Regions from separate parts of the Homo sapiens genome. Here region 1 is linked to region 2. Evidence: promoter capture Hi-C in 16 types of primary human blood cells and fetal thymus (Javierre and others, 2016). All regions are on one chromosome and are shown on one strand. The core of a region is centred on a gene start or on the middle of the fragment in contact, and the rest is flanking DNA. Distances in the headings are between cores, read along the strand shown.

Region 1 (3,071 bases), core at 486-2,985, 170 kb before region 2:
TCTTCCATTAGAGCAACTTAATTATGTTCATTTTTTAAAAGGTATATATATACTTTCAATACAATATTATCTGGGAGAAGCCATTCATTCAGATCTTTGTATTATTATAATATTATAGTTATAACTAATTATAATGATAACCTTTCCACATCTAGAATTATTCATTTATTTAAAATCTTAATATATGTACATTTTTCCTATGATGAGGCCACAAAAGATAATAAATGAGAAAGAATTATGCTGAGCGTAGAGCTGGAATCCTGGTGAGTACCATAAAATATAGTTTTTCTTAAAAGAAGAATCAGTCTAAACAAAGAAATTACCCCACCGCCAAGGAAAAGGGCCTTCAAATTGCCTATCCAGCAGCATTGCATAATTGCTATGAATCTTTCATTCTCCTTTATTCTGAATGGGAAATTTTTATTGTCATGATTTTGTTCCAGCCCCATTATTTTATATTTGGTGGGGTAGCAAATAAATTGTTTTGTAATTTTGTGCAACCCTGGGCCATAAAAAAATACCCAACTAATAAAATAACTGTGGTTCACTGGGTTTCACGTAAAAAAAAAAATATATTGTCCTAGATTCTGGTTTCACAGATTTATCTTTTAAAGTTATCCCTAAAAGAATATATATAAATTTTGTGCAATTTCCTATACATGTGTTATACTCCTCAATGAAAGCTGAAATTTTAAAAAGAGGAAAATTGAAAAAATTGGAATTAGAAACAAGTTAACATATATCTACAAAAATGATGCCAGTAGATCTACAGAATTATTTTAAATCTATATGCAGTGTTCAGAGGTTTTACCAAAACCACAAGAAAACAGGAATTGTTACAGTAAAATAATACAAAATAATATGGCAGGCAAATACTAATTAAAAAAGAGCTACTTTGGTTATATTAAAATCAGATAAAATAAATTTCAAGGCCCAGTGAACAAGAGATGATGGGGTTCAATTTGTCAGGAAGATATTAATATAATAGTTCTAACCTGACAGATCTGTATGATATACATTCATGCATGTACACACATACTTATATCTATGTTTATATTGATATATAGTTATAAATATATACAGATGACCTCTACTTAACTATGGTTCAACTTATGATTTTTTGCATTTGTGATGGGTTTATTGGGGTGTGACCTCATTGTAAGTCAAGGAACAGCTGAACTTATGATAGTTCAACTTAATATTTTTTTTTACTAACAATGTGTTTACTGGGGTATTAAATGCATTGTGATTTCCAAAATTTTTGAGTTATTATGAGTTTATCAGGGCATAAATCTATCATAAATCAAGGAGCATCTGTATATGTGCAAAATATGCTGAAAGTTACTACATCAGTGAGGATTTAAAAACATATCTTTCAGTAATTGATGGGTGAAACAGGTAAAAATTGTGATTAAGAATATTTGGGTAACATATAGTAAGAATGATCAAATGAGTATATATAGAACACTATACCAAAGAACTGACGAATATACAGTTTCAAGAAACAGGAAACATTCATGAAAATCAACAATATAATAGGAAATAGAGCAATTCTCAGTGGTTTTCCAATATTAATTTCATACACATAATAATATCTAACTGCAATGTTATTAATTTTTAAATAATACAAAGATAACTCACAATATCATAAGCTTGGAATTTTAAAAACACTTTTCTACATAAATTAATGCTAAATAAAAAATCCCAGTGGGGAATAAGTGATCTTTAGAATTGAAGAAAATAAAATAATATTACATATCAATAATCATGAGATGCATTTAATGCAAAAAGTGAAATATTTCTGGTAATTCAAGCTTAAATTTGAACAATTCTTACAGATTATTTTTAACTGAAGTCAATCCTGAAATTTTAAATGGAAGTACAGTCAAGGAACCAAAGGCCAAAGAGCCAAGTATAACCCAGAAGAAATAAGATACGAAAATTTGCTATAGCAGTGATTAAAATTTACTATCAAACAATTGCAATTAACACTGCATGGTGTGAGTGCAAGGATTGAAAGCTAAAAACACGTTAGAGAGTCAAGAAATAGACCTGCAAAAATATGAACACCAGATATTGTATAGAGGTAAAAGTATAGACTAGTCAGTCAGTGGCCCTGAGATAAGTATTTATCCGGAAACTATAAAGCAAGCAAAATAGTGTATCCGTCATGACATATGCAAAAGTTAATTTCCAGTATATCAGAGACTTAAATATGAAAGGCAAATTTAAATAATTTTTTCAGGAATATAAATGGAGGTATTTTTCTGATATATAGATAATTTTTAAGAGAAATAACATACTTAAGTAAAAGAAACTAGTAAGTATTGATAAGTTAATCTATTTTGAATTGTGGACTTTTCATCATCAAAAGACGCCATAAAAAGAATTTTCACGCTGAGAGCAGATCTTTGCAACATAAAAAACCAGTGTAGGATTAATGTCCATAACATATTAAGAAATTCATATAAACCAAAATGTCAAACCACCCAATTAAACTGCAGGCAAAAGATGCAAACAAGTATTTTATGGAAGAGAAAATCTGAATAGCAATAACATATAAAGGTGATCATCTTGTAACTGATGCAGTCATTCCATTTTGGAAACAAATAACTATTCTTTCTTTTACGATACCTAATTGTGTGCTTGCTTAAGAATTCCAAGAACTAACCCCAAGATAAAACCAAGGCTGTGAAATGTTCTTAATGGAAAAAAAATACTGAGCAGTTAATCTTCAATCTTATTAGAGGTTGGATGATGCCAGCTACACCTCTTGATGCCCATTCCTCATGACAGTCGTTGGAAAAAGACATTCTGAAATGCATAGCTAACTCCTGCACATAGTTTCCCAAGCCCTTTCCCCTTTAAAACCCCTATGTCCAGGCTGAGAAACTTGAGATGGTCTTTGCTATGCAAGTCCACCATCTCCTTGGATTGTCAGGTCCTGAATAAACCTGCTTTTCTCTTCCACCAACGCTTGCCTCTCAAGTTTTGGCTTTCAATTGGCAAACAACTGAACCTGAGTTCAGTTACAATCTCATTACTAATCAGGAAATTAAAACCACTGCGTA
Region 2 (2,809 bases), core at 114-2,613:
AAGTATTTTGAAGATGAAACTGTATAAGAAATTTCAAATAAAATCTCAATGTCATCATGGGTATATGAACCTACAAGTAATGCATGAATTGTCTTTCAAAAAGAAAAATACCTCTTCTGCCTATTTTCCATCTCTTACTCAAAAAAAGTACACGGACTAAAAAAAAGCTCGCTCGTTTAAATACAGCTCATCAAAAAAGTGTTTCCACATAAATGGGAAAAGTCGCCTTGGGGAAATTTTATTCCTCTGCCCTCGTGCTGTATAATTTGTACTGTACTGTCTATTGGACGAGTGCCTAATAACTTTTTCATAATAAATTCCAGTTCTATTTTGCAGATCCTCGAAGAGGCAATGATGGTTGAAAAATAAGCGCATCGAAGGTCCCCGAACAGCCACATAATGACTTTAATTAGGGGAAAATAAAATTTTCTGGAATTTATGTGCTCTCGTGAGCCTAGATGCCCGAATTGCCACCTGCTGAAACGGGTGGCTGTAGACTCTCGGAAGGGCACAGAGCCGGGAGCGCTGAGGGGCGAAATGACCCCGGCGCCCGAACGGACGCCTGCGGCATGTCACCTAAAGCGTAGCCGACACTGCACCCAGCCAAGGATGGGCTGTGAGGGGAAGGCCGAAAGGTGGCGCTGCCGCAGGCGTCTGGAACGTACGCGCGCATATGGCGACAAAGGCAAGGGCCGCCAAGGGAACGAGCACGCCCTGTTGCGCAGACACGCCGTCGCGCCGGAGGCTGCGCTGCCGCCGCCGCCGCCGTCCTTTTCCCCATCCCCGCCTCAAGGATCATAACCGAATTTTTTTTCCAGATACCGCCTTCAAGATGGCGGCTCCGCCTCCCGACAACACTCTCAATACTCCCCAGCAGCAGGCGCCTAGCAGCCGCCATCTTGCCCCCCCGTCCCTCCTCCCCTTCGCGGACATTTACATAGCGAAAATAGGCCCAGCAGGCCTCCGGCCTTCACCTCACGCCTGCAGCCTTCGCCTTCTCGCCCCCGTGCCGTGCCCTGCGTCCGCAGTGGTGTCGACCCCAGGTCCATCAACTGCCTTCCGGACAAACGGGCGAACTTTTCCCACCCTGCCCGCTTATGGAGCGCACCTCCGCAGCCGCTCAGGGCAACTGGATAATCACTAGGCCTAACTGCGGCCTCCTCGGGGCCTGTTCGGCGCCGAGCGCCACGCCGGCCGGCCTAGCGCGGGAGGGCGCCCTACGGGACGCCGACCAGGCCACAAACAGGTTACTGCGCGCGCACTAGGCCCCGCGGCCGCGGGGGCACGCGGGACTCACCCGACGGATGTGCGGGCGGTCGGCGACAGCGGCGGGTGCTGCAGGACGGCCTTTCTCTGGAGCACTGGGCCGGGCTCCGGCTGGTAGGGCGGGCGGAGGGAGGGAGGAGGGGCCGAGTTCGGAGCTGACAAAAAGCGGCCCAGCTCCCCGGCACGGGCCCGCCGTCAGCACGTCACGTCACCGCCCGGGAGAGAGACCCAGGAAAATGCGGGATGGTAGTTGGGCCCCCTCCGCCCGGTGGGCCTCTCGGCGCCCCGGGTCGGCGCCGGTCACGCCCCGAGTCCGGGGAGTCCAGTGACCTCACTGCGGTGGGGTCTCCGGCAGCTGGAGTTTCCGTCACAACGTTCCTTTTCTCCGCGCGCCCGCCGTCACCACTACTTGCGCACCACCGCCTTAGTTGGTTGCGTGCAGGCAAGCGGCCCCGCACCGGGCCAGGCCACCCCCTGCCATCTCCGGTGGACCTGGGATTCCTAATCTCCCACACCCTGCGCCAGGCTCTCCCGAGACCTATCGCCTCTCGGCGCCAGTCCTAGCCAAGGCGACAGATCTCATTGTTGCAGGCCCTTAGACCCCCGCCCTCAGTAAACGTGTTTACTTTATTCCTAGGGTTGAGGAGGAAAGCAGATACAGACATATAGCATTCCCCACTGTCTCCTTTGTTGGCTTTAAAAAAAAAAAAAAAGAAAGTAAATGGACTTGCCACAGTGTACAGGCAAGAGGAGGGGAGGATTATCCTAATCAATTACTGAGCCAATTGATTTTTTTTTTTGCGTTAACGTAGGTATTTTGACCAAGATTTGTAATGTCTAGTGTGTGTTCTTTATGGCAGTGTTTCATCTTTTGGCATCCTTGAAATGTCAGTTTTGTGTAATTGTCTCATGAACAATGAATTATGCACACCCTTTAATAAATGTAAACTAACAATTGGTTTTGGGATTGTCTTCTTACAAAATTATTTATCCTCTTAAAGTTTAAAAAGGCTTTAGAGACTGAGAGGAAAATGCATTTGATTAAACAGATAGTACTGATGAACTCCAAAAACGTGTATTGTGCGTTTTCATTACTTTACGTTTTAATGCACTCTAATTTCCCATTAAACTAGGTACCCAAACTGTGTTTAAAAGTTGCTACTAAAAAGTTAAACATGCCTATCGCGGTCGCTCACCTCTGAGCGCTTTGGGAGGACAAGGCTGGAGTATCGCTTGAGGCCAGCAGATACAGGCGGACAGCTGTGATCAAGCCACTGCACTGCAGCCTGTGGGCCAGAGCCGGTAATCTCTAAATGTAGAGGCCAGGTATTTCAGTTTTCTAGCATACCTATTTTTAAAACTCAGAAATCATCTTGTCCTTAACTGAGAAACCTAAAAATCATAAAATGCTTTACGAAAGGAAAACCAGTGGTACATAGTTGATATAATGAGTTAAGTGCTGGATAGCAATTCTCTTTTCAAACCATTGGTTTGACCTTGTTTTCTCAAGTCGTTACCTTTTGTTTCAAAAATGATAAATGAG

What was found. Contacts are between HindIII fragments. The CHiCAGO score rates a contact against its expected background, and 5 or more counts as called.
Region 1: a contact is called between a fragment that was not itself captured here and the fragment with the promoter of ZFY in region 2, in 8 of 17 cell types (total B cells, non-activated CD4 T cells, M0 macrophages and 5 more). The highest score is 12.3, in total B cells.

What each region holds. Positions count from the first base shown.
Region 1 is chrY:3,104,393-3,107,463 of GRCh38, reverse strand. No RefSeq gene overlaps it. Among named protein-coding and RNA genes, the nearest start is that of LINC00278, 100 kb to the right of the region's middle. The HindIII fragment of the contact is 162 bases long and covers 1,655-1,816 here.
Region 2 is chrY:2,933,935-2,936,743 of GRCh38, reverse strand. It overlaps ZFY (zinc finger protein Y-linked), which reads right to left and starts at 1,363. Exons shown (of 8, transcript NM_003411.4): 1 at 975-1,363. The HindIII fragment of the contact is 5,223 bases long and covers 1-2,809 here.